Linked DNA regions of Homo sapiens: regions 1, 3 and 4 are each linked to region 2. The links are contacts of gene promoters, found by promoter capture Hi-C in blood cells and fetal thymus (Javierre and others, 2016). All regions are on one chromosome and are shown on one strand. The core of a region is centred on a gene start or on the middle of the fragment in contact, and the rest is flanking DNA. Distances in the headings are between cores, read along the strand shown. Region 1 holds the start of SLC9B1 (solute carrier family 9 member B1). Region 2 holds the start of DNAJB14 (DnaJ heat shock protein family (Hsp40) member B14). Region 3 overlaps CENPE (centromere protein E). Region 4 holds the start of SLC9B2 (solute carrier family 9 member B2).

Region 1 (6,986 bases), core at 4,224-6,723, 3.1 Mb before region 2:
GGAAGTGATGTGGAAGTTGGACACATCTCTTTTCCTACATTTATTGGTATTGATCATATCCGGCTGTGAGGCAGCTAAGTGTTGTCTCTAGCTAAGCATTCACACTCCTAGGAGGAACGGAACATCAGATTTTCGGGGCCAGAGCTTCCACTGTGTTGGATGTTACCATCATTCAGTAGCATATTCTTACATGCAAACAAAAGCTTTTGAAAGACATTGCCTTAAACCAAAAGAGTGACTTCTATGGCAGGGATTTCAGAAATTGTGACTTGCCAGCAGAGAAAATATTAGAAGAAAGACTTACCTGCATAGGTCATATTTTATCCTACTTTGTAACAGGCCATCTCTGCTTTTGTGTATCACTCATAAGTTCCTCTTCACTCTAGGTCATCTTCTGTGTAGTTACTGAAATAATCACATTCACATACAGTTTACAGTTTTTATCATGTTATCTGTGTACCTGAAGTGTTTATTACATACTTGTCATATCCTATCTAAACTCCTCGACCTAGAATTCAAAGTTCATTTTAATCTTGAAGTAGATATTAAATATGTATTAGATGAATGAATTATGAATATCCTAATCCCACCAAGCTGATCTGCATAAATAAAGCCTGTCCATTCCTCTCTTCATTAGACTTCTGTTCGAGCCCTATCCACCATGGCTTTCACCTCTATTCAAAACTAGTTTAATATTCACTTCTTCTAAATAGCCTTCAATTTTATGTCAACTTTGCTTTGGTTACCCTATGGTGCTGTATTCCTTTAATGTTTATGCTCTTGATTTGGACTTGATTAATTTATACCAAAGGTCAGATAAGTGTTTTGAACTGAACTTCATTGGTTAGGTGCACTTTGCTGGGAGCACCATAAACTTAATGATCATCTGGTCCTCTATTTTTGCAGGCTCTAAAAGTAGATGCATCCAAAAAATACTTACTGAAAGCTTTTGAGATCCAGGCACATCATCAAGAATAATATTGTCCCTGTCCTTAAGGATTTAACAGTCCAATAGAGAAAACAGACAGTTAAACAAGACATTGCAAAACAATATGATAAGTGCTATTATGCAGGAACTACAGGGCTGCTAGGGAGCTCATGGCAGGAGCACTCAATCAATCCAAGGGTGGTGGAGTTTAGGCACAGCTTCCCAGAGAAAGTAGGGCATTGGCTGAGGGAAGATTAGGACTTAGCCAGCAAAAGGGATGTAAGACCAAAAAGTGTTACACTTCATGCTGTTTCCCAGGTCATCAGTGGCATTTTCTCCAAGTAACAGGCTTGGAATATTTATTAACTTATACATAATACAGTTAGTATAACTAAATCAGAATGCTATTGAATATGTTTAGGGCCCCTAGGAAAATTAGAAATGGAAGTCCACAGAGTACAGAAATGATTGAAGGGCACCTGAAGCCACTGCCAATACCTGTTTTCATTTTGAGGTCATGCAGCAAACTCTTTTCTACCTCTAAGAGGGTAGCCACCATCTAAATCTCTGTGACTGCCCAGTGCTGGCTTTTTGACTTCCTCTATTGGATCTCTGAAATTTGTGCCTATTCCTGGAAGCTCTTTGTAGGAATTTATTAATTGCTATAAGACTATGTTGCTGTTATATATCATGGAGATGGTGAGGTCAAGAATGACAGAGGCTGACCATTCAGCAGGGCTCACCATGTGAAGGCCGGGGTTTGTCACCACATTGAAAGCCACATCTCTTGACTTGGTTGGTGAACTTAGGGTTAACCTGATAGAGTACTGACCAACTCAACCTATCCCCTCTTAAACCACAGATAGAAACAATTACTCTAACTTTTGGGTCCCTTATACATACTTATGTCAGAGCACATGTAACACTTTTTTTCACTTTATTTACATGTTTGTCTCTTATTAAATCAGCTCCCTATGGGTAGGAACCTTGTCTTAATTATCCTTGAATCCTCAGCATTTTTCACAGGGCATGGAACACAGTAGACATTTAATAAACATTTACTGACTAAATCTGAGAGGAAGAGGATCCTCTCTCAATATCAGAAAACTACTTGCCACACGACAGTTCGGATCTTAGTCCACTTAGTCTATCTTAGTCAGCTTGGGCTGCTATAACAAAATACCATACACTGGGTGGCTTACACAACAGAAACTTACTTCTATTAAAGGTTGGAAGTTCGAGATCAGGATGCCAGCATTGTTGGGCTCTGGTGAAGTCTCTCTCCCTGGCTTGCCAATGGCCACATTCTCACCCTCTCACTCATGTGTCATCACTTGATGCCGAGAGAGAGCAAGCAAGCTCTCTGGTGTCTCTTCTTATAAGGGTACTCTAATCACAGCATGAGGGCCCTACCCTCATGACCTCATCCAAATCTAATTGCCTTCCCAAATCCTCATATCTAAATACATCACATTGGAAGTTAAGGCTTCAACATATGAATGTGTGGGGAAGGACATAATTCAGTCCCTGAAAGAAGTGTCATATTTCCAAGGACAGTATATTTCTGTCTGGTATTAACTCCCAATCACCTTGATTGATCTTGATGTCCTCAAAATTTCCTCAGGTAAACATTTGCAAATGATCTCATCCACTACATTCTTTAAAAATAGTATTTTTTTCTGATTATAAAGTAACACATTTTCATTGCAAAAAATTTAGAACACAGAAAAATACAAACAAGAAAACTGAAACTAATATAAACATGTATTTTATTTTTCTTTAAAATTGTACTGCAGTTTTGGGGGATGTATTATTTTCAGAAAGATATATCATCAACTGAATTTGTTGGGTGAAAGGCAACATAAGTATTTCATATTTGGCTTTTATGATGCTATGTAGATTGAAGAATTTTTTTGTATATAATGAATGCTAAGCCTTCATGTTTATATTCAGATATTCATTTTGCAATGAATAAAACAGACAAATCCCTGCCTTCATGGAGCTTGTTTTAAAATCCATTTACTCCCTCACTCAGAATATATTATAACATGCCTACTGTGTGCCAGGTCTTGTGCTAGATACTAGGGAATACAGTGATGAACAAGATATTCAAGGGCTTGGTTTTCAATAGAACTTGATTCTAGTGGAAAATTGACAATGTGAGGAATACAAATATGAATAAGACATGATACTTGCCTTTAAGAACCTTAGAAGGAAATAAGATATGTACAAATAGCTATAATCCAAGTGAATAATTCAAAAGTGTTTTTAGTGTAGAAGTTGAGGAAATCTTAGAGGAACTGATACTTGAACTAGACCTTCAAGAATGGAGAGGATCTGGATGGATGGGGTAATATTAGGGAGTAAGGTGAAGATGGGAACAACTAGTGTGGGAGGCTGGCATATTAGCAAAGTTTTGAAAACAGTAAAGCCTGGAGCATAGAAAGTGATTGGCACTTGAGATTGATGAAGAGAATTAGAGATAAGACTAGAAAAGAAAGTTGGCACTGAAATCATACTAAATAGATCATTGGCTAAATATTTTTATTGAAGTACTTTCAGAAGTATGAAACTATGTAGAAAGTGTTAAAACTTTTTTTATCATGTCATGTATAGTTTTAAAAAATTGCTCTCAGTTAAGATTCTCCTTATTCCTCAAAAGCTTTTGCTTTCCATGACTTTGTTGCAAATATAATCAATTTACTTATTTTTAAAACTTAATTTTTATAAGAAAGGTTATCAGATGATTGTTTAAATGTTTTTTATTAGTAAATTTTCATTATATTGTCTCCCAAAGAACCACTGTATTTTTTTAATGTCTCAGAACATTATATTTTTATATGAATCATTTATGTACCTCTCTGTAACAAGTGGGAATTGCTTCATGGCATTTGGGGAGTACGTAATATTATATTTATAGTTGACTGACTCAAATCCAGCCTGAGCCCTCTGGCCTGGTGAGAATTCCAAAACTCCATTTGTTGATGTGCGCTCCATCTTCCTTACATGGACCCTAAAGCACTTACCTCTCCAGGAGCCCATTCCTTCTAGAGCATAAGAGTAGTGCCTTGGAGGCAAACAGACTCCTAGCAAAGGTCTTCCTTCCCAGGTTTACCATTTGTCCCAACTCCCATTATCTTTAGGGATCTACCTGCTTTTCCTGTGAGTACAAAACATTTCCTTTTCATGAGTACAAAACATTTCCTTAACCCTATAATCATGAAACCCTGTCTACTCTCCTGAAACGAGGAAGAAAAATAAATCCTTGCTGAGATGTCTATAACACGTTGAAGGAGGGAAGGTGTTAAAAACAATAAAAAGGGCAGGGCTGTGGTGGCTCACGCTTGTAATCCCAGTACTGTGGGAAGCCAAGACGGGCAGATCACTTAAGTCCAGGAGTTCAAGTCCTCCTGGGCAATATGTGAAACTCCTCTCTACTAAAAATACAAAAATTAGCCGGGGGTAGTGGTGCCCACCTGTAGTCCCAGCTACTCAGGAGGCAGGAGGATCGCTTGAACCAAGGAGGAGGAGGCTGCAGGGAGCCTAGATCGCACTGCACTCCAGCCGGGGTAATAGAGTGAGACCCTGTCTCAACAACGTCAACAAAACCAATAAAAAGATAATTTCGTATTTAAGTTACCCAAGAAGGAACGGTAATTTGGATCAGATCTTAGATGATGACTAAGAAAAAGAACACTCCGGTAGAGGAATTAACTTTACAGAACGCACTGAGGCAAAAAGGAATACAGTGTTCAAGAGTAAACATTGAGTGTCAGGAGAAACATTAGATAGGAAAGGGCAGTTTGTCTTTCTAAGAAGTTTACACTTTCTCCAATAACAGTTGTTTTTGTCTTTTATAGGAAGCGCGGATTCTATTACTGGAAACTTTGGGACTGAAAGGCCAAAGCTTCTGGGCCCACCATCAACGCAGCTCCGCTTTCATTTCTTTCACATACAACTTTCCACATAAGATTTCATGCGGAAAAAAAAAAAAAACTCACAAAGGTTTTATACTGATAACAGTATATTAAGTGTTTACTTTGTACACAGCGTCTTTGTTCCAGACACTTGCCATGTCTCATTTATTCTCACACCACCACCACAGCGTCCTTTACAGATGAGAAGACAACCTCAGGGAGACGATGTATTTGCCTAGGTCCCATAGCTAGCAAGTGACAGCGCTGCAGTTTAAGCTCAGGCCGTCTTGGGGAGAGACCGTGCTCTTCTACCATTGCACTTTAAGCTGACTTTAGGGGAAACACAATCTGAGTTTTGACAAGTTTACTTCTGGCACATGCAGTCCCGAGCACTGCTTTTTGGCTAAAATGCCCAGTGATGTCAACTCTGTCCCTGGATTTCTACAACCCGATGAGTCAATATTCAGAAGAGACGTCGAAAGGAAAGGGTTCAATAGACAGAAAACACACCAGACAGTCCCAGAAACCCCAGAACCCTCGCCTCTGCCGGCGCGGACAGCCAAGACGTCACTTAAACGCGCTGCCGCCTCCTCGCCCCGCCCCGCCCCTGCGCGGAAGTCTATCCGGGCTTTCGCGTCACCACCCTGCCCACCTGGGTGGCGCGTGGCTTACGCAACGGTCACTGGGCTCCTGGGCCGCTCCCGGGCCAGCGAGGGCTGCGAAAGAAGTTGTAGGTACGGCCCATTTTTCTTAACGCCGCCCTTCCAAGCCCTTTGGCGCTAGTCCCGGGTCTGCCGCGATCGTTTCCTTGCGGTAGGCCGCAGGAGGGCCTTTCCTCCCCCTCAGTTCAATGGGATTCTTGGGCTCTTCTCCCAGACGCTGAGGGAACAGCCACAGACATTGTCTCTCCTCTCCGTGACTCCTTTCCTTACTCCGTCATCCCACATCTCTCTTGTTTGTTCTCTTTTCCTCCTGTTTTTCTTATTTTACAAATACTCGCCAGTAAGAAAGAAGAGATCTGTCAGTTAAGATTGACCTCAAAATTAATTTTATTAAGCGTGTACTATTTTACAAACGGTGGATCCCTGCAAATAAACCTTCACATACATGCTCCTGCGACTGGAGATTCTGGGATTGGTTGCCGATCCTGAGAAAGCTCTCTTCCCCCACCCACCCACATCCACGCCCCTTAATCCTGTTTACTCCTCTTGGCTTTAACCCAGGGGACAAGCACTTCCAGCAGTCCCCAACCTTTTTGGCACCAGGGATCAGTTTCATGGAAGACAGTTTGGGGTGGGGGGCAAGATGGGATGACACTCTTCTATCTCAGATCATCAGGCATTAGATTCTCTTGAGAAGGCGCAATTTAGATCCCTCACATGCGCAGTTCATAATCAGGTCTGTGCTCCTATGAGAATCTAATGCCTTTGCTCATCTGACAGGAGCTGGAGCTCAGGCATAATCCTCTAGCCCTGCTCACCTGCTGTGTGGCCTGTTCCTAATAGGCCACAAACCTGTACCTGTCTGCTGCCCAGGGGTTGGGGATCCCTGCTTTAGACCAGTGCTTTTGAAGGAAAAAGGAAAGTTGCACACATACTGTGTCTGTCACATCAATCAGTAGTGTTACAAGAGCTCTTCACGGGACCATACCAGGTCCCTCACTCCCCCTCTATGGGTGTCCTAGAGCCTGTGAAATAACAGATTTGGTGATGTGGGGAGACAACTGGCCCAGGTGGCACTGAGGGAGGCCACACCCCACTCTCTGATTTTCCTTAGAGATAAATATAATTATGTGTGCAACAGAAGCATGAAAAATGACACTTATTATTGTCACCCCTAGAGAATTCATGCCCCAAATATTTTAGTCACTGTGTGCCTATGAAAAGGGCATTCATAGGTATTGTCCCCTGTGAGTACCAGAATTTTTTTTAACTTACTTTTTAAAATTCTATACAGATTTAGTTAGTACAAGTTCAGTTTTGTTGTGTGGATATATTGCACAGTGGTGAAGTCTGGGCTTTTAGAGTACCAGAATTTATACTGCTGTTTTTCAGTTGGCTCTTGTCATAAGGTCCTGCCAATTACTAGACACAAGGAAATAGGTGGGTGCTATAGTTGTAACATATAAAGTATCGTTTTTA
Region 2 (6,817 bases), core at 2,951-5,450:
GACGGGAGGAGCCGCCAGGGATTGAGAGGGTAGGGAAGGGGTGTCCGGGGCCCCGGAAAGCGGCTGCGGGTCGCAGGTCTCCGCCCGAGAGGCGCTGGGAATGGGGCTGGGAGTGGTGGGGGCGGCGTGCTACATACCGAGGAGACTTCACGTGGTCTCTAGAGCCCTGCTAGGGGACCCGGGACGCTACCGCGCGCCCCTCCCCTGAGGTCTCAGCTCCTCCTCCCAGGCACGTGATCGCAGCCGGCTGGTAACTGCGCTCCTGCAGCGTAGCTCGCTCTGTTTCTTCCCTCCCGCCGCGGTGCCCTTCTTCTCCCCCGTTCCCATCCCTCCGCCTTCCCCCGCCTCTCCCCCCACGCCCCAATCGCGGCTTGAGATTAGAAGCGCCCGCCCCTCCACCCTTTTCTTCGCTTGCTCATTGGCTGAAGTCTCAAGGACGCGTCCCGAGGGCGGGTGGCAGCCATTGGTGGGATGAGCAATCCGAGTTCCCGGATGAGGGAACATTCTGCAGTATAAAGGGAGCAGGGAAGGCGGGAGACAGCGCAGTTTGAATCGCGGTGCGACGAAGGAGTAGGTGGTGGGATCTCACCGTGGGTCCGATTAGCCTTTTCTCTGCCTTGCTTGCTTGAGCTTCAGCGGAATTCGAAATGGTAAACTTCGCAGAGACGCTCGATGACTCCGCGGGTTTTTGCCGGCGAGAGAAAAACCCGTTACACAGAGGGATGGGGGTGAAGTGGCGACGGTTGGGAACGCGCGGAGACAGGATTTAGAAGAGTGGGGGGAGGTGTTTTGTCGGCTGCTAGCGGAGCAGCCTCGGATCTCGCGGCGGGCGGCGACGGTTGGGTGGCGCGCGCAGCGCCGCTGGGGGCCGGCGGGCGGAGGCGCGCGGCCGTGGCGAGCGCGCGGCGGGGGGCGAACGGGCGGGGTCGCCCCTGCGGCGCGCCGCGGGCCGGAGACCCCGGCAGGGTGCGGGGACGCGCTCGCGGCGGGACGCGCCGCGGTGGGGGATGGGCGCGCCGCCTTGGTAATTCTATATTCTCCGTTCCTCCTCCGCTCGCGGGCGTGTGCGCGCCGCAGGCTGGCGGTAAGGCTGGAAAGGACTCCGGAAAGGCCAAGACAAAGGCGGTTTCCCGCTCGCAGAGAGCCGGCTTGCAGGTCAGTAGTTGTTCGTGCAGTCTGGGAGTCATGATGTTTTTCTTTGCATTTCCTTTTTTGTTATTCATCGCTCTCGATGGGCGTTTTGTGTATGCGTGGGTGATGCGGTGTCGCGACTTGGGCTGCCCATACGATAAATATGGGGGGGAGGAATCACGTGTTTCGATGTCGGGACGCGTTGCTGCGCCCGTGCCCCTTGCTTTGGCGCGCATATAATTTCCCCATCTCTAGTTCTCATTTTTGTGCATTTATGTTTGTGTATGCTTAAAATTTAAGTTCCCAGTGGGCCGTATTCATCGACACCTAAAATCTAGGACGACCAGTCATGGACGTGTGGGCGCGACTGCCGCTGTGTACAGCGCAGCCATCCTGGAGTACCTCACCGCAGAGGTAAATGGGTGAACGCCTATAATCCGGAGAAGGTTTGGGGGGCGGGGAGGCGGCAAGAGGGAAGGAGGAAAGTGATGCAAGAAAACTCCCAGGCCCTGAACGCGGCGAGAGGCCTAAGAGAACGCTAGAGGGAGCTGGTGTTCAACAAGGATCCTACTGAGCTTGAGTTCTCTGCTCTTGGAATTAAAATTGCGTGCCCCCTGTATATCTTGCCAGTCAGATAGTGAGGAACGATTCCAGTTGGTAGATCTGCGTTTGTGAGGGTTTTATTCTGTTCTCTGAATCTTGGCCAAAGGAAAGTTGGAAGGCAACTGACAGATTCTGCCTTTTAGGTACTTGAACTGGCAGGAAATGCATCAAAAGACTTAAAGGTAAAGCGTATTACCCCTCGTCACTTGCAACTTGCTATTCGTGGAGATGAAGAATTGGATTCTCTCATCAAGGCTACAATTGCTGGTGGTGGTATGTTAACTTCTAACATTTTAAAAAATTTCTTCAGAGGAAGGAATTTTTTGCTGCTTTTAATTAGTTTTTCCAGGAGAGGAAATTTAAGTATATTTTCAATGATGGAAGTATGGTTGTATCATGAAATTTGATTTATATGTATAACTCAATGAATTTTTACTTCATACTTGAGCTGCATGTTTTTAAAGATACCTTTCAAGTTGAACAGTATACACTTTCTTGGTTTCAAATACTGTGATTTTTTAAAAAATCTTAAGTAGAATTAATTCCTGTCACTCTCCTAGGTGTCATTCCACACATCCACAAATCTCTGATTGGGAAGAAAGGACAACAGAAGACTGTCTAAAGGATGCCTGGATTCCTTGTTATCTCAGGACTCTAAATACTCTAACAGCTGTCCAGTGTTGGTGATTCCAGTGGACTGTATCTCTGTGAAAAACACAATTTTGCCTTTTTGTAATTCTATTTGAGCAAGTTGGAAGTTTAATTAGCTTTCCAACCAACCAAATTTCTGCATTCGAGTCTTAACCATATTTAAGTGTTACTGTGGCTTCAAAGAAGCTATTGATTCTGAAGTAGTGGGTTTTGATTGAGTTGACTGTTTTTAAAAAACTGTTTGGATTTTAATTGTGATGCAGAAGTTATAGTAACAAACATTTGGTTTTGTACAGACATTATTTCCACTCTGGTGGATAAGTTCAATAAAGGTCATATCCCAAACTAGTTGTGTATTAAATTTGCTTGGTTGTAATAGGAACTTGTTTTGAGTATCTCATCTAGCAGCAATAACTAAGCACATTTCTTTGTGACTGAACTGTCAAATCTGTAGATCAACAAAGTGAGATAGCCCAAGTATATTTTTTTAATGTTATATGAGCTACTAAAGTTTTAATTTAAAAAGTTGGCAGGAGCTGGAGTGGGATTGTCAGTTTCTTAGGCTAAGTGTGACCATTTCAGTTTGTACATTGGCTTCGCTTGCTGTGTGACAGCACTGCACTAGTATGCTGTTAGCATGGTGGACTTGGGGAGGGAGAGAATAGGTAGGAATGTCCTGTATATCCACAGAATGAACTCCGAATTTAAACTTTAAAGATAATAGTGCTACGTGCCAGGCCCTGCTTTGAAGTCTGAAGTTGTTAAGTACTCAGTAACATCATTGGGGATATACTATCTCCATTTTATCGAAGAGAAGCAGGGTTTCTTATTTGAAAGTACCGAGTTATGGTAGTTAGCAGAATTAACAGCTTGGCTCACAGCATTATGTAAAAATTGTTACCTTGTGGTTGGGTTGAGCAGGTCATTTTGACAGTTTGTCATGTTTTTTTTTAAAAAATTTGCACATAGCAAACATTCCCCCCACCCCCACCGCGAAGACTAACAAGACACGGTACTTCCAAGTGGTAATGTTATCCAAATGGGACGGAAAAGGTGAAATCAAAAGTTTGCTTTCGTTAGGGCAGCCCCTGAGGGGCTGATTCCTGCCTTGTTTTGGCTACACAGGATTAAGGTCGATCTGCACCACTCGTTGCAAGCTACAAATTAAACTGCTTTGTACTTTGGATAGCCAGACATCCGGGTCAGAAAAAATGTAGCTGAAATAAGGCTGCCATACAAGCCCTAAGATTAGGTTCAAACGACGCTCTAACGTGTCCCGGAAGTGCTGAGACTGGACTGACACCTTGGTCCTCACCTGACCGCATCCTCCCTCGCTTGAGGGGCCCAGAGGCGGAACCTCCAAGTCCTGGCAATTTTACTGAAAACGAGTGTCCCCTTCCCGGACCCTGTCCTCCTGGCCTGAGCTGCGAGGGCCTCGCCTGGAGGTCACAGGGCACGGCGCTACCAATGCCGGCAATCGGGTCCCGGGCGGAACCCCTCCCCGCGATGGGCAGCCCGGCTGCTATCGTCCGCCTCCCGGGCAGGTCCGCTTCGAGCCTGCTGGCGCCGTGCGCGGACCACCGAGTCAGCTCGGACGCCCCGGCCCAGGAGGTTGGTCCTGGGCCGGGACGGATGCGGATCGCGCCCTAGGGGCCCGCGGGGGGCGGGGAGGCCGCCGTGAGGAGGCGGAGCTGCGAGGCCCGCCCGTCCGCCCGGGCCGTCGCAGCCGCTGCCGCGGTCCCCTGCGCTCCTCCCCGCTGCCGCCGCACGCCCCCAGCCGGTCCCGCCTCGCCTCCTCCGCGGCGGCGGCTTCCGCCCTTCTTAGCTGCGCTGCCGGAGGAAACGGAAGAAGGAGCAAGCTATGGAGGGGAACAGGGATGAGGCTGAGAAATGTGTCGAGATCGCCCGGGAGGCCCTGAACGCCGGCAACCGCGAGAAGGCCCAGCGCTTCCTGCAGAAGGCCGAGAAGCTCTACCCACTGCCCTCGGCCCGCGGTGAGACCTCAGCGTCCCTTCTCTTCCTGCCCAATCCCCAGACCACCGCGTAGCCCGCCCCTGCCCCCACCTCGGCCCCTCCTGGAGGCCTGCGGGGCCCCCGGCCTGTCTGAGCCAGCCCCAGCCCCAGGCCCGGTGGGGAGCATCCCGACACACCCCCGCCCTGGCCCCAGCCCCGGCTCCGGGCTGGGGCTCGGGGAATGCTGCGCGAGGTTCCTCTGCACCCGCCTGCCCGCCGGCTCCGCGTTCCGCTGTCCTAAATGTCCGGGTTTCATTCTCCCTGGAGGAGACTTGTCTGGTCCCGTCTTACCACAGTGAGGCTTTATTTGTATCTGTGTTGTTTATGTGGCCCCCTCCCTCCCCATTCTCAGTCCTACATAAGGCCTAGGCCCCTATCGAAGTGAGAGGAATGGTGTACTCTAGTGGCTAATCTCAGATTCCATGTTTCTGAGATCTGTAGAAAACTGTTCCCAAAGCAAACATCGAATACCTGAGATGACATTGCTTTTCCCTGGGAGAGAGTTCCTTTAAAAGAGAAGAGCACACTTTCGGCAAGAATGGTCAAGAGTCAGTAATGATTGCTGAAGAGTATCTGATTTGATAACACCATGATTATCGACGAACCAAATCTCTGAGGAATATGGTACTGGGTTTCCTTTAGTTGAAGTCAGCTTATTTATTTTCCTACTCGATAGGCTTCGGAGTAATAATAGCCAACATTTATTGAGCACAAAGTGCCAATAGTTGTGCCCAACATTTTGCATGGATTATTTCATTTATTCCTCAGAACAATTCTGTGTAGAGGTGCAGGATTCATTTGACCAGGTTTACCCACGTGGAAACAGACTTTCTGATAATTAATGAATGAATTAGCGAATGAATGAAAGTATCTTACCCAAGGTCACACAACAATTAGTAGCAAAGTCAGAATAGTAGCTGAACTTTCAGACTCGAAAAGGCCTTTAACCGCTACACTGTTGCCTTGCCATTAGTATTTCCAGGTTAAGAAGAAAGTTATCGATAGATTCAATTAATTGTAGAAAATTATTAATGAAAATATGGGGCCACTTGTTTTGTTGTCTCTTAAATTTTTTTCTCTACGTCGTTGAAGCCCTGTGCTCTTTGCTTTTCTCTCTATCCTTTCCATTACATTGCCTTCTAACACTATACCCATGAGGACAGGAAAATAAAATGAAAGAAAAGAGTTAATAATTTTTTAAGTTGTGGTTTAAAAACCTGCCAAATTTACGGTCTTAACTATTTTTAAGTGTGCAGTCCATTAGTGAAGTATATTGACATTGTTGTGCAAGGACTCTTCAGAACTTTTTCATCTTACAACACAACTGTGTACTAATCAGACAGCTCCCTACCGCCCCGTCTCCTAAGACCCTGGCAACTACCATTCTACTTTGTGTTTCTGTGAATTTAACTACTTTAGTTACCTCAGATAGGTAGATTCATGCAGTATCTTTTTGTGACTGTCTTACTTCACTTAGCATAATGTTCCCAAGTTTCATTTATGTTGTAACGTGAAGAATTCCTCTTTAAAAAAATACTGATTAGGCTGGGCGCGGTGGCTCACGCCTGTTATCCCAGCACTTTGGGAGGCCGAGGCGGGCGGATCATTTGAGGTGAGGAGTTCGAGACCAGCCTGGCCAACATGATGAAACGCCATCTCTACTAAAAATACAAAAAAATTAGCCAGGCGTGGTGGTGCATGCCTGTAATCCCAGCTACTAGGGGATGCTGAGGCAGGAGAATCGCTTGAACTCGGGAGATGGAGGTTACAGTGAGTCGAGATGGCAACACTGCACTCCAGCCTGGGCGACACAGCGAGACTCCATCTCAAAAAAACAAAAAAAAAAAGACCAAAAAAAAGCTACAGTAAAAAAACTGAATAATATTCCATTGTATATATACACCACATTTTGTTAATCCATTCATCTGTCTATGGACATTTGGGTTCCTTTCACCTCTTGGCTATTATGAATAATGCTGCTATGAACAAGGATATGCAAAGAGCCTGCTTTCAATTATTTTGGATACCAAGAAGTGGGATTGTAGGATCATACAGTAATTCTATTTTTAATTTTTGAGGAACCACAATACAGTTTCTGTAGCGCCTGCACCATTTTACTTTCCCACGAACAGTACATAGGGTTTCAGTTTCTCACCATCCTTGCCAACACCTATTTTCTGTTTTTGTTGGTTTTGATAGTACCCATCCTTGAGTGGGAGGTGATATCTCATTGTGGCTTTGATTTGCATTTCTCTGATGATTAGTGATGTTGAGCATCTTTTCATATGCTTATTGGCTAGTTTTATAATATCCCATTTTTGGAGAAAATGTCTGTTCAAGTCCTTTGCCCATTTTTAAATCACATTACTTGTTTTTTTTTTGTTGAGTTGTAGGAGTTCCTTATTTATTCTGGATATTA
Region 3 (6,531 bases), core at 1,398-3,897, 3.2 Mb before region 2:
TGGCCTTGAACTCCTAGGCTCAAGCAATCCTCCTAAGCATCAAGGACTACAGGTGCATGCTAGCTACCACACCCAGCTGTAATCACCTTTTGATTTTGTCTGCTAGTGCCAGAGGCATATGCATAATGTGAATTCATCAAACTGCAAATAAAAATGTTTGAGTCCTTTTTTAATATGTGGATCTCTCTGGTACTGTTTTTAGATAAATAAAAGAGTAGCCTAGAAGAATACATAAATCAAAAACTGACCAATTCAGAATTAAATGAGATAGTCCCAGCTTGAATTAATACCAGTCTTTAAAAAAATAAATGTGAGTTTTTACTTTTAATTATAAAAGGTAATCTAAATTACCTTAAACTAAGGTAATTGCCAAGACCAGTTATGGTAGATTTACTTTTATAAATATAATAATTGTAAAATAAATATTGTTTATAAGCAAATAGATGCAGCTAAAGTCCTTTTTAAAGGCTCACAGAAAGCTTTCCAAAGATGATTAAATATTCTCTAAAATACTATTTGTTTAGCACACCATTTATTTTGAAAAACAGGACAAAAGAAAACTCAATCAGCCCGTGTTTGATTCACTTTGAATTTCAAATTGAAGAATTCCAAATAAAACTTTATTACCTCTCAGTTTAACTATGGTTTGTCTAATAGTTCATTTTAGGACAAAATGGGGAGTAAACTTCTCCAACTCTGAGGTGAAATACACCATCTTCATGACCAAACACGGTGAATCACGTTGCCATTTTTCATTCTTCACATCTCTCCTGTCTTAACCTCCTTTCCACTTCCAGCTGTGCTTGGTTTTTGTGTATTTTTGTAATAGGATGAATGTTGTTTTCATTTTCTTTCTCAGAGGTGCAAAATGCAGGAGCAGAGAGTGTGGATTCTCAGCCAGGTCCTTGGCACGCCTCCTCAGGCAAGGATGTGCCTGAGTGCAAAACTCAGTAGACTCCTCTTTGTCACTTCTCTGGAGATCCAGCATTCCTTATTTGGAAATGACTTTGTTTATGTGTCTATCCCTGGTAATGATGTTGTAGTGCAGCTTAATTTCAATTCAGTCTTTACTTTGCCACTAGAGTTGAAAGATAAGGGAACAGGAAATGAATGCATTGTGGTAATTTAGAATGGTGATAGCAATACCTTCTTCTTGCATATGGTAATACTTTTAAAAGTTGAATTGTTTTATTTATTTGTATATTTTGTAAAGAATAAAGTTATTGAAAGAAATGTAAAGTTATCTACATGACTTAGCATATTCCAAAGCATAATACATACATTAATATAAAACATCATTTTATTAACAAAATTGTAAATGTTTTTAATACCTTACACATTCAATAAATGTTTAGTAGTTCTGAATCACCGCTCTTCTATATAATGTTAATGGTTTCTTGGTGAGGTAGTCTCTCTTGTTGACTCAGTATTTTGCTATGAAAATATACACAAGTTTTCTGGATCTGGATTTAAATTCTTAAAGGATAGCAGAGGCTATGTCCTCTTAACTTTCCAGTTCTAATATTCCTTTTACTGTAATAACCACAGAAGTTCTTTCTCACATTTCTGGTAACCTACCTATCCCAATCCCTATACAAACTCTCTAAATTGGTTGGTTTATTATAGACTTTGTTTTTCATTGCCCCTCACTCCCAGCCTGGAGGAACCTATAGATCATTTATTCTACCTCTTCATTGTAGACATAAGGAAACAGTACCAGAGTTTTTATCAAAGTAAAGTTTTCTAAACCTGGAGTCCCCACAGATAGATAAAGCATATATGGATGGACTTCTTGTAATCTGTAAAATTTTTGAAATTTTTTATGAACTTTTTTGTGTGGATTTATTTGGGGGGAGGGGATACTGGGGTTTATACTTTGTTTTATCATATTCTTAGAGGGGCCCGTGATCCTGTAAAAATCTAAGAACTATGGTTTTAGAGGATATTTGATATTACTTTTATACCATATGACTTTGAAAAACCACTTAAAACAAGTTGCATTAGGTTATAGAACAGAGGTAAAGTGATTTCAAGTCATTCTCGGCTCTTTGGTAAGATTCATTCAAAGGGAGAGATTATTGATTGCATCATATCTAGTATTTCAAAGTCTGTGGATTGGATATTTCTCCGTATCTTAACATACCACCAAAGGAATTAACAAAGACTAAGGGGAAACTATCCCTTCCTAAAATCTTTTCCCCCAGACCTGTACCTTGAGAGTCTGTCTTCTGCTTTCCACCCTTATCCAAACAAAACACTAACATGCCTGCAGGTTTGATTCTTTATGTCTGCTTCTCCACTGAACAAAAGTAACCCAAAGTAGTGGTTGTTTACCTGATTGATAAAACTACATTAAAGCCATTAAAAATCTAGTTGTCAGGTAGCCAGCCTAGTAGAATATTGCTTAACTTTTGAATTTGGGTGTCCATTTTATTCCTCAAATTTGGGAAGTTTGTGGCCATTATTTCTTCAAATAAGCTCTGTCCCTTTTGCTGCCACCATTATCCCACACCCTTAATATCCCCACACATTTTTCTCAGATTTCTGCTTATATAAGTTAGAAAACTCAAGTGGTTCTTTTGATTGTGATGCAGCTCCTCATGGGCCACACTTTGTACCTCACATTAGGGATCTGCTGGGACTTGAGTCTAGTTATAGGTCTAGGAGCATAGAGGGGTGGTGGGGGTAGGTCCTGAGGAGAATCAGCATTGTCTTGCTTGGCAGCTGCCTCAGGGGAGGCCATTATTATTTCCTCAGGCAATGCAGGGTTAACCCTTCAGACAAAGGTGGAAAGGCCATTACCAACCCCAATGAGGTTGGAGAGGCCACTACAGCTGGTAAAAAAAAAAACTCATCAGAATGTAGGAACTGGCCAGGCATGGTGGCTCACACCTGTAATCCCAGCACTTTGGGAGGCTGAGGTGTGGGACTCTTGAGCCTAGCAGTTCGTGACCAGCCTGGGCAACATAGTGAAACCCCGTCTCTACAAAAAATACAAAAATTAGCCTGGCATGGTGGCTTATGGCCATAGTCTCAGCTACTCGGGGGTGCTGAGGTGGGAGGATCACTTGAGCCCTGGAAGTCAACGTTGTAGTGAGCCGAGATCATGCCATTGCACTCCAACCTGGCCAACAGGGTGAAACTGAAAAAAAAAAAAAAAAAAAAAAACTCAATGTTCCTGGCTTCAGGGTCTTCCCACACGTCCCCATCCCAACTTATAGAATCTCACTCTCCCAGTCACTGTGGCTTATTTTACCAGTAGACACACTGAGGCCTTTTGTAATTGCACCAATCAAATGATGAAGACTGGTGTTTGATTTTCAGCAATTTTAGCCTCATGTCTACAGGAGAGAAGATCCTCTTTCAGGGCACGCCTATAAGCTCTTAGGTTACTTATGTGGAGCTTGAGCCATGAATTTGAATCCCTGAAGTCATCCTTTTTTTTTTTAAATAATTTTGCCCAACAATATTAGAAGCAACCAACCAACATTGGTATATTTCTTAGTTTTCCATAAATATTTGAAAGTATTATAGGGCCGGGCACAGTGGCTCACACCTGTAATCCCAGCACTTAGGGAGGCTGAGGCAGGCGGATCACAAGGTCAAGAGTTTGAGACCAGCGTGGCCAACATGGTGAAACCCCGTCTCTACTAGAATACAAAAATTAGCCAGGCATGGTGGTGTGTGCCTGTAATCCCAGCTATTCGAGAGGCTGAGGCAGAAGAATCGCTTGAACCCAGGAGGCAGAGGTTGCAGTGAGCCGAGATCATGCCACTGCACTCCAGCCTGGGCGACAGAGCAAGACTCTGTCTCGGAAAAAAAAAAAAAAGTATTATATATAGAGTCACTTAAGTTCCTCACCTCTAAGAAGTGGTTGATTAGGAGTATCCAATGCAGACATTTTGCATACCTCTATGAACAGTTCATTTCTTGGACAATCAGTGCTCTCTGTACTATTAAAAGGAGAGCCAGGCTGGGCGCAGTGACTCATCCCTGTAATCTCAACACTTTGGGAAACTGAGGCAGGAGGAGCACTTGAGACCAGGAGTTTGAGACCAGCCTAGGCTACATACTGAGACCTCATCTCTACCAAAAAAAAACAATTTGGAGGGCTGAGGCAGGAGGATGGCCTGAGCCCAGGTATTCAAGGCTACAGTCAGCTATGATGGTGCCACTGCACTCCAACCTGTTCAAGAGTGTGACCCCATCTCAAAGAGTAGAGCCTTTAGCATTTTCAAATCTAATCAGACTAAGAGCCAATTCCAGGAACCCCAAAACCAACTCAGGAAACTCATCCTTAAAATTTTGTTCCTCTAGAACCTCTCCTGTTACCAAAATCTGTCTTAGGATTTTCCAGAGAGACAGAACCAATAGAATATACACAGATGGTCACCAACTTGTCATGGTTCAACTTGAGATTTTTCAACTTTAGGGATGGTGTGAGAGCGATACGCATTCAGTGAAAACTTTACTTTGAATTCTGATCTCTTCATAAGATAGCAATACTCTACTGTGATCATGGGCAGTGGCGGCAAGACACAGCTCTCAGTCAGCCACGGGATCACGAGTAAACAACTGACACTGTTCAGTGTACTCTGTTCAATAAATCCCATGAGTCAGTCAACACCTTGTTATAAAACAGGCTTTGTATTAAATGATTTTATCCAACTGTAGGCTAACAAGTGTTCTGAGCACATTTAAGTAGGCTCGGCTAAGCTCTATGTTCAGTGAATTAGGTATATTAAATACATTTTCAACTGACAATGTTTTCAATTTACAATGGGCTTATTGGGATGTAACCCCACTGAAGCTTGAGGAAAAAAAAAAAAATATATATATATATATATGCAGAGAGAGAGAGAGAGGATGTTTATTAGGGGAATTGGTTTACACAATTAGGGAGGCTGAGAAGTCCCACCATAGGCTGTCTGCAAGCTGGAGAGCCAGGGAAACTAGGAGCGTGGCTCAGTCCAAGTCTGAAGGCCTGAGAATCTGGTCGGAGTTCAGGTATCCAAGGGCAGGAGAAGATGGATGTCCCAGTTCCGGAAGAGAGAGAATTCACCTTTTCTCTGCCTTTTTGTTTTATCTGGGCCCTCAGCCAATTGGATAGTGCCTGCCCACATTGGGTGAAGTAGATCCTTACCCAGTTCACTGATTCCAATGCCGATCTCTTCCAGAAACACTCAGAGATGTCCCAGAAATAATGCTTACCAGCTCTCTGGGGATCCGTAAATCCAGTCAAGTTGACACCTAAAATTAATTATCACAAACATTGTCTTGAGAGCCTGGCAGAATTATATTCAGGAAACTTATTAAGAAACTGCCATTCACTCAGCAAATATTTAATGAGCATCTACTATCTGCCAATTACTGTTTTAGGCACTGAAAGGCACTACCAATGTGGAACTCATATTGTAGATAAGAAAACAAGTAACTAATACTCTTTTAATACGAGCTAATCACAATGTAAAGGTGTAAAACATAGTCCCCACCCTTGAAGAAATTTAGTCTGCTGAGAATACTAATGGGTAAGCAAGTATTTGCAATACCATGTGACTTAGGCTGTTATCAAGTAAGCATTGTTGCTGAAGATTACAGAGGGATGCTGAAGAAAGCTACATCAAGAAGCATTGGAGTTGGCTTTGATTAGAGAACTCTCATAAAGTCTGTTCCAAAAGCCTCAAAAGTCAAAGGGCATTATTAGTAAAGCAGGAACAAAGCTAGATGTGATTACAGATTGTTAGAGCCAGCATTAGAAGTTGCTGAAACAATGAACAAGGAGGGACAATTTTACCATAGACCTCATATAGACACATGCAGAAACTAAGTCCAGTTTTTAAAAGAACATTAAAAAGCGCAACTTTTACCATCCATTATAATTAAATTTCTCCAACAATGTCTTCATCATAAGAATCACTAACATGTATTAAGCACCTGTGTGGCAAACATTGTGCTGATGGATTCACAGGCTTAGTCGTTCCTCCTCACCACATCCCTGAGGTAGGTGCTATTTTACCTTCATTTTACAGATGAGAAACATAAGAGGTTCAGAGATTTAAGTGATTTACTCACTTAGCTAGTGAGAGAGAGATATGGGACTTGCTCTAGTCTTACTGACGCCACAGTCTTTGTTCTTATCCCCTGTGACTGTTAGAAATCACTTAGCTCCATGTAACAAAAAACGTGAAAAACACTAAAGTTTATTGTCCTCACATAAGAAGTCCAGAGGAGTTGTTGCCTTGAGGCTGTCATCAGGGCCGCAGGCTCCTTCTCTTGCTGGTCCCTGTCGTTAATGTGTGCCTCTGGCCTCAGATGAACTCACTAAATGGCTGCTCTGTCCCACGGCATCCTATCTTCATTCCAGGCAAAAAGAAAGGGAGGAGCAAAAGCTAAAAGCCTTTCAGAAGGGCTTACTTTTCTATTTAAGAAGGAGGCCCTCCTCAGAAATTCCCACCTGCATTTCATTGGCAACATCTATGCTGCTTGGCCACCCCTAGCAGCAAACAAGGCTATGAAGTAGAGACTTTTGTT
Region 4 (6,509 bases), core at 3,524-6,023, 3.1 Mb before region 2:
GTTCCTTTCAAAAATTATAATTGGGGAAACCCTGATTAAATGCAAGTCAAAAAATTGAACCTCCAGGATTATAAGAGCTCTAAGTGAAATGGGGAGAGGATTAAGCAGATTTGTGTTCAGTGGACACAGAATTCGCATGTGGTGTTTTAGTTTTACTTGTGACTTGTTTGGGAGAATTCCACTGGCTCTTTTTTCTCTATTAATTCTTACTTGTGGCCGGGCATGGTGGCTCATGCCTGTAATCCCAGCACTTTGGGAGGTCGAGGCAGGCGGATCACCTGAGTTCAGGAGTTTGAGACCAGCCTGACCAACATGGTGAAACCTCGTCTCTACTAAAAACAGAAAATAGCTGAGCGTGGTGGCGGGCGCCTGTAGTCCCAGCTACTCGGGAGGCTGAGGCAGGAGAATCGCTTGAACCAGGGAGGCGGAGGTTGCAGTGAGCCGGGATTGCGCCACTGCACTCCAGCCTGGGTGACAGAGTGAGACTCCGTCTCAAAATAAATAAATATTTTTAAAAATTCTTACTTGTTCATCATCGTGTATGGAAATTCCTAATTTAATCTCTTCCACTTTGCATCTGTTTAACAGTTTTTTCCTTAATAACTATTGTTTACTTTTAAATGGCTTAAGATGAAAGCAAAAATGATGCTTATAAGGTATAGAGCACAAGAAGGTCCTCCTCTGTTTTATGTCTCTGAATACTACAGGAACAAGGAACTGTAATGTGTGAGAAGAGGGAAGGAAAGGGGACTAGGCGGGAGCGAGGAGGGAACAACTGATAGCTCCTCTTCCCAGTAACTTGGTGCACACCAGATAGTTGGTGAATGTGACAAATACAGGGATTGAAATGTTTCCGTGACAGCGCAGTTTCTTCTCAGAACTTCTCCCAACTATTAACAACAATTGTTAATAGCTGGGGAAATTAATAGACAAATGTTTAATGAAGAAGCACATGAGCCTTTGTGATTTCTCTGAATCCGTATCTTCAGAATAGCTCATTTGATTTGGGTACTGCTGATAAGCTAAATTACCCTTAGTTAGCCAGAGCTTAGGTTACAAGATATTTGGAAGTGTTGTGGCTTGAAATGTGCTACAAAAGTACCTTTGGCTTTTTAGAGGTTTCCAGAGGAGTTCATATGTGTAACAGAGCTTGTCTTTTAAAAGAACTTGGGGGAGTTGGAGGTATTTCTTTGGTGAAGTGACTAATAACTCCCTAGTTCACCTACTGTATATTATCAGCTTTTATCTATTGAACTCTTAAAATTTCTCTATTCATTATGATATCCTTACTTCCTCTTCCATTGTTTCAGGCTTCAGATGAATTTAGACTGTTTGAGTCTTTATTATCCATTTTAAGTTAAAAGATTTTTAAACTTCTACCAAAAAGATCACTTCAGCCTTATTTAGAAAATGAAAAATTTATGGGAATAAACCAGTAATTATTTTTTAAATTCCTTAGTTTTATAAAGATTTGGATATCTGAAACTAATATAGAATATTTTTATAGCTTAATGGATTATAGTTATTATCATTCATGTAAATTTTTAAAACACATTTAGTGTGCTTCAGCTCCTACAATTATCCACTTATAATTGATCAACTAAATATATGCTGTCTTTTTTAAAAAACTGGTCATTAATATGACCATTTTATGACTGATACACTTATGTTCAAAAGTTTATTAGTGGCATAAAACTTAGCTAGTTTTGAATAGTTCTGAGTTTCAAAATGAAAATGTGCTTTTAGCCTATATCCTAATTTGGGGAATGGCTATACATCACTGTTCCTTAATTTGGGGATTCTGAGACCAAATACCTAACAGTGACAGGTGCTTAGACACCAGCCAGAGGCCATTTAGTTCCAGATCACAGGACACTCAGCAGTTCTAAATCAACCAAATGTTAATTTGGATTTCCCTGAATTAAGTGTTTAAGTGAGGTTTCCTGTTAGGACAAGGGTAAATTGTTTAGTTATCCTAGTCACAGGAAAATTTCAAAATACAGCCTGTATCAAACCTGGTTAATTGTTCTGTCTCCTTGTGTTTATCACTGCAGTCTGCTTATGTAACTGGTAACCCTGTCATCATTGATGGAGGCTGGAGCTTGTGATTTTAGGATCTCCATGGTGGGAAGGAAGGCAGGCCCTTCCTATCCACAGTGAACCTGGTTACGAAGAAAACTCACCAATCATCTCCTTCCTGTTAATCACATGTTAATGAAAATAAGCTCTTTTTAATGATGTCACTGTTTGCAAGAGTCTGATTCTTTAAGTATATTAATCTCTTTGTAATCTCTTCTGAAATCATTGTAAAGAAATAAAAATATTGAACTCATAGCAGGAGAATAGTTTTTAAAATAAATCTCGATTTGTTAGCATCTGTCTTAGTCACTTTGGGCTGCTATAACAAATTACCATAGATGGAGTGTCATAGACAACAAACATTTATTTTTCAGTCTGGAGGCTAGGAAGTGCAAGATAAAGGTGCCAGCAGATATAGTTTCTGGTTAGGGCCCACTTCCTGGTTTGCAGATGGTCCTCTTCTTGCTGTATCCTCACATAGCAAGAGCAGAGAAAAAAAGCGAGCGCTCATGTGTCTTTTTATAAGGACACTAATCCTGTTCATGAGGGCACTACCCTTATGACCTGATTACCTCCCAAAGGCCCCACCTCCTAATGTATCATATTGCAGGTTAGGATGTCAACACATGACTCTGGGGTGATACAAATAGGCCATTGCAGCATATACAATTAAAATGTAAATATGAAGAAAAAAGGAAGTTTTTGTTTTTTTGTGGGGGAGATGGGGGTTAAGGAAGAAGATAGTAATTTCAGGACTAGGCATGGTAGCTCATGCCTATAATTCCTGCACTTTGGGAGGCCAAGGCAGGAGGATCACTTGCGGCCAGGAGTTCAGGACCAGCATGGTTAACAGAGGCTAAGGCAGGAGGATTACTTGAGCCCAAGAGTTTGAGGCTGCAGTGAGCTGTAATCATGCCACTGCACTCCAGGGTGACAGAGCAAGACCCTGTACCTAAATAATAATAATAATTTCCACTTCATTTTTCAATATTCAAATATTTTTATATAATTCTGCATTGTTCTGTATGTAGATCCTAATTTTAAAATTTTACACCATCATAAATGAACAAAGGTAGGAAGGAGTTTGGCTTCAATAGCTTACAGTAAAAGGAGTAAAGGAGTTCAGCCTCAAAACGATATTGTTGACCTGTTATGTTATGAAAAATAATCCAGTGTTTATACTTAACGGATGCCATCCCTTATTATTTACTATTTTCTTAGTCTAACTAAACAATCTTTATTAAAATAAGCAATGATATTTGACATGGGCCTAAGAAATATATAGTTAGCTAACAATATTGTCAGTTAGAGGGATTTCTTTTCTAAATTAAGTACAGATTTCTTCACCAAACTCCAGGATAACAGAAAAGAGGACATAAAATTTGGACATAGTTTCTGGATAAATAAATGTAAATTTAAATATAAATTATGTAACAGGAAACAAACGAAATTAAAGAAAATAAATTTTTCAAGAAAAGTAAATTTATGGATGTTAATTCTGTAACATTGTCAGGGCAAAGTTTTTTGTTTTTATTTTAATTTAAGGGTTTTATGTTTGTTTTTTACTTGTTGCAACCTCAAATGACCAAATGGTATGATGCACACTGAGATACTCAATAAATGTGCAGTGATTCTTAGCCTTTTTTCCTAGAACTTTAATATTAACATGGAAAATTCTGAAATGGACAACAAAAAGATAACACTTTGTGTATGGGGAAGAATATCATGCAGTTGATGACGGTACATTAAAATTCACACAAAAGGACATTTTGACTAGCATTCAGAAAGAGTCCATTGATTATAAGATTATCTATGAGGTTTTGGACCGGGCACTACACTACCGAATTATGGCTAACTTTGGTTTGTGATCTAGACCAAGTCACCCAATCTATCTTGGATTTTAGTTTTCTGGTTTATGAAATTAAGGAGTTAAGCTAAATGACTTGGGTTTCTTTTCGTGTATCATAATCAAAATGCTGTAACTTCTCTAGTGAATTCATAGAACACTGACTCTTACAAGTATGTCATGAAATACTTTATGCTGTGAGCAGGTATACATGTATAATATATGTATAGCTATGAACAAATAAATTTTAAATAAATGCACAACGAATTCTACAAAATGGGCTCCAACATTAACAAATGATCTGAGTTAGTCTTTCTCACAGCCGACCATAAACTATAAAACATTTTTATAAACACTATCAGCAATAAAAACGAAGTAAAATCTAGCCAAAAAATTCAATGTTCTCCAAAGTCATGTTAATCAAATCAGGTGATATATTAATGAAGTACATATGACTAAAAGGAAAAATATATGTCATTCCTGTGGTAAGAGGAAGCTGAATGTCACTAGAAATTTTTACAAGCTTTAGGAGAGGAAGAGTTCCGTTTAGGAAAATAATCATTTCAGATGATCTGAAGAAGGGTATTGGATGGAACCTATCCAATAGGTTCATCACAAAAGAGGACCTGAGAGACAAGAATGAATGGTTTCTGACTGGTGGAGAAATTTGAGGATAATCTCCCTTGCTTGAAAAGCGGTGATTAAGATTGGCACTTGCTTACAGGAGTGAAAAACAGGTAAGGGGTGCGCGCGTCTTAACACACACAAGAGGAAATACAGAGAAAAGGAAGACACAAACATGAAATGAGAATTAAATGAAATAGAATCACACTGCTGATAGAAGGGTTAAAAATCTAAAATACAACAAGAAGGGCAGGTGTTAAGCGATAAAGGGGGGCAGAACAAGTCTTTTATCCGGCCATTTAATTGGTCACCTTAAGAAAGAATCCTATCTTCCCACCGCAGCTGAGAAGACACTTCTAAGAGGTACAGCTAAAAGGTGGAGGACTGATAGACAACTTAGAGGTTGGTTTCGGGAACGATAAAACAAGTAACGGGCTGCCCGGCCTGCGCCGCGGAGTCCCGAGGAGCCTGCGCTGTGCTCCTCTCGCGGTGTCTCGTCATCTCCGGGAAGACTCGGCGCCTGGGTCCGCGCTCTCTGGGTAAGCTTTCCGGGAAGCTTTCCCGGGAGCTCGCTGGTCCTGGCCCCAGAAGCCTGCGGACCCGCCCAGGGAGGATAAGCAGCTGAAAGACCGCGCGGTGCCGCTCCGAGGCCCCGGGACGTGGGCCCATGGTCGGCCTGGCGCCACCTTTCCGGGGGAAGCCACGCGCACCAGGCATCGCACGCGGCTCTGCACCCGCGCCGCCGGACCTGAAACCCGGCGGAGGGCACACGGGGCTGCCGCTGCGGGCCCCGGACCAACCCATGCTTACTCCGGAGCCTGTACCGGCGCCGACGGGTCGGACCTCCCTGCGCGGTGTCGCCCAGCGGGTTCGTGCGAAAGGCGGGGCCGACTACACGCGGTGCCGCGCCCTGAGACCGTTTATCTGCAGTCAACGCAGCCTCCCGGCTCAGCCTGGGAAGATGCGCGAATCGGGAACCCCAGAGCGCGGTGGCTAGACCGGGCTCCGCCGCCTCCCCCACAGCCCCTTTCCTAATCGTTCAGACGGAGCCTGGTCGACTTCGCCGGAGACTGCCAGGTGAGAGGCCCCAGAGACACTAAGGGTAAAAATAAACCCAGCGCCAGCGGCGGGTACCCTGTAGGCCTGCTGGACCGGAGACGCGAGCGAGGGGCCCAGCCTTTTCTGTTTGTACACCCGGTGACGGGCGCGTGTCTGTTTACTGTTGTAAGGTGTTGGCGTGGGTTTTCTTGCTTGCTTTTATTTTAGTTCTCAGATTAACCAGAGGGGGTGTTGCCTTTGTGGACTGGGTTAGCATCCTCGAGGTGCTAAGAATCATCGTATGCTATTGACTGAAGAATATAACCTTAAGACAGCAGTAGCTGCTGTAAGAGATAAAGTAAAACATCTCAGTAACTAAACATAGTTCAGGCTTATTTCTCGTTCATGTCAAGTCCATTCACGTGTTCAGCTGTTGGCCTTCTACTCAATTATTCAGGAACCCAAACTCCTTTTATATTATGGCTTTGCTATCCCCTAAGACCTTGGAGTCCTTAGTTTCCAGGCAACGGACAGAAAAAGAAAAGCTACTAGAGGATTGCATGAGGATTGTTTCTTATGGGTGAGGACTGGAAATCACATACTATTTATGTCCACATGCCATTGACCAGACTTCAGTCACATGCCACACTGACCTGCAAGGGAGACTGGAAATGTACTATGGACCCAGGCAGAAGAGTAAACGATTTTGGTAAACACATATCAGTCTCTGACCATCCCTTAAAGGGCAGACTGCATCTTAGTCATCTTTGTTACTCTTGTGCCTATCACACCAGAGAAACTTGTTAAGGCTTTGTGAGGCCGAGGTGGGCATATCACCTGAGGTCAGGAGTTCGAGACCAGCCTAGCCAACATGGTAAAACCCCATCTCTACTAAAAATATAAAAATTAGCTGGGCATGGTG

The links. Contacts are between HindIII fragments. The CHiCAGO score rates a contact against its expected background, and 5 or more counts as called.
Region 1: the fragment with the promoter of SLC9B1 here is called in contact with the fragment with the promoter of DNAJB14 in region 2 in 4 of 17 cell types (non-activated CD4 T cells, fetal thymus, activated CD4 T cells and 1 more); the score reaches 7.2 in non-activated CD4 T cells.
Region 3: a fragment that was not itself captured here is called in contact with the fragment with the promoter of DNAJB14 in region 2 in 1 of 17 cell types (fetal thymus); the score reaches 6.4 in fetal thymus.
Region 4: a contact is called between a fragment that was not itself captured here and the fragment with the promoter of DNAJB14 in region 2, in 1 of 17 cell types (total CD8 T cells). The highest score is 5.2, in total CD8 T cells.

Annotation. Positions count from the first base shown.
Region 1 is chr4:103,018,192-103,025,177 of GRCh38, reverse strand. It overlaps SLC9B1 (solute carrier family 9 member B1), which reads left to right and starts at 5,473. Exons shown (of 12, transcript NM_139173.4): 1 at 5,473-5,579. SLC9B2 (solute carrier family 9 member B2) reads left to right here. Exons shown (of 12, transcript NM_178833.7): 12 at 1-2,925. RefSeq lists an enhancer at 5,132-5,632. The HindIII fragment of the contact is 6,332 bases long and covers 4,838-6,986 here.
Region 2 is chr4:99,944,001-99,950,817 of GRCh38, reverse strand. It overlaps DNAJB14 (DnaJ heat shock protein family (Hsp40) member B14), which reads left to right and starts at 4,200. Exons shown (of 8, transcript NM_001031723.4): 1 at 4,200-4,379. The coding sequence starts at 4,247. It overlaps H2AZ1 (H2A.Z variant histone 1), which reads left to right and starts at 543. Exons shown (of 5, transcript NM_002106.4): 1 at 543-650; 2 at 1,078-1,155; 3 at 1,432-1,545; 4 at 1,878-2,007; 5 at 2,295-2,730. The coding sequence starts at 648. The coding sequence ends at 2,356. It overlaps H2AZ1-DT (H2AZ1 divergent transcript), which reads right to left and starts at 324. Exons shown (of 4, transcript NR_125923.1): 1 at 138-324. RefSeq lists silencers at 1-162, 203-252, 913-962, 1,043-1,132, 3,937-4,596 and enhancers at 74-678, 623-712, 1,753-1,802, 1,284-1,889, 4,767-4,816. The HindIII fragment of the contact is 11,087 bases long and covers 1-6,817 here.
Region 3 is chr4:103,100,645-103,107,175 of GRCh38, reverse strand. It overlaps CENPE (centromere protein E), which reads left to right. Exons shown (of 49, transcript NM_001813.3): 49 at 860-1,365. The coding sequence ends at 954. Among named protein-coding and RNA genes, the nearest start is that of BDH2, 4.1 kb to the right of the region's middle. The HindIII fragment of the contact is 4,331 bases long and covers 482-4,812 here.
Region 4 is chr4:103,075,301-103,081,809 of GRCh38, reverse strand. It overlaps SLC9B2 (solute carrier family 9 member B2), which reads left to right and starts at 5,049. Exons shown (of 12, transcript NM_178833.7): 1 at 5,049-5,626. It overlaps BDH2 (3-hydroxybutyrate dehydrogenase 2), which reads left to right. Exons shown (of 10, transcript NM_020139.4): 10 at 2,055-4,218. The coding sequence ends at 2,108. RefSeq lists an enhancer at 5,050-5,169 and a silencer at 5,280-5,389. The HindIII fragment of the contact is 645 bases long and covers 4,451-5,095 here.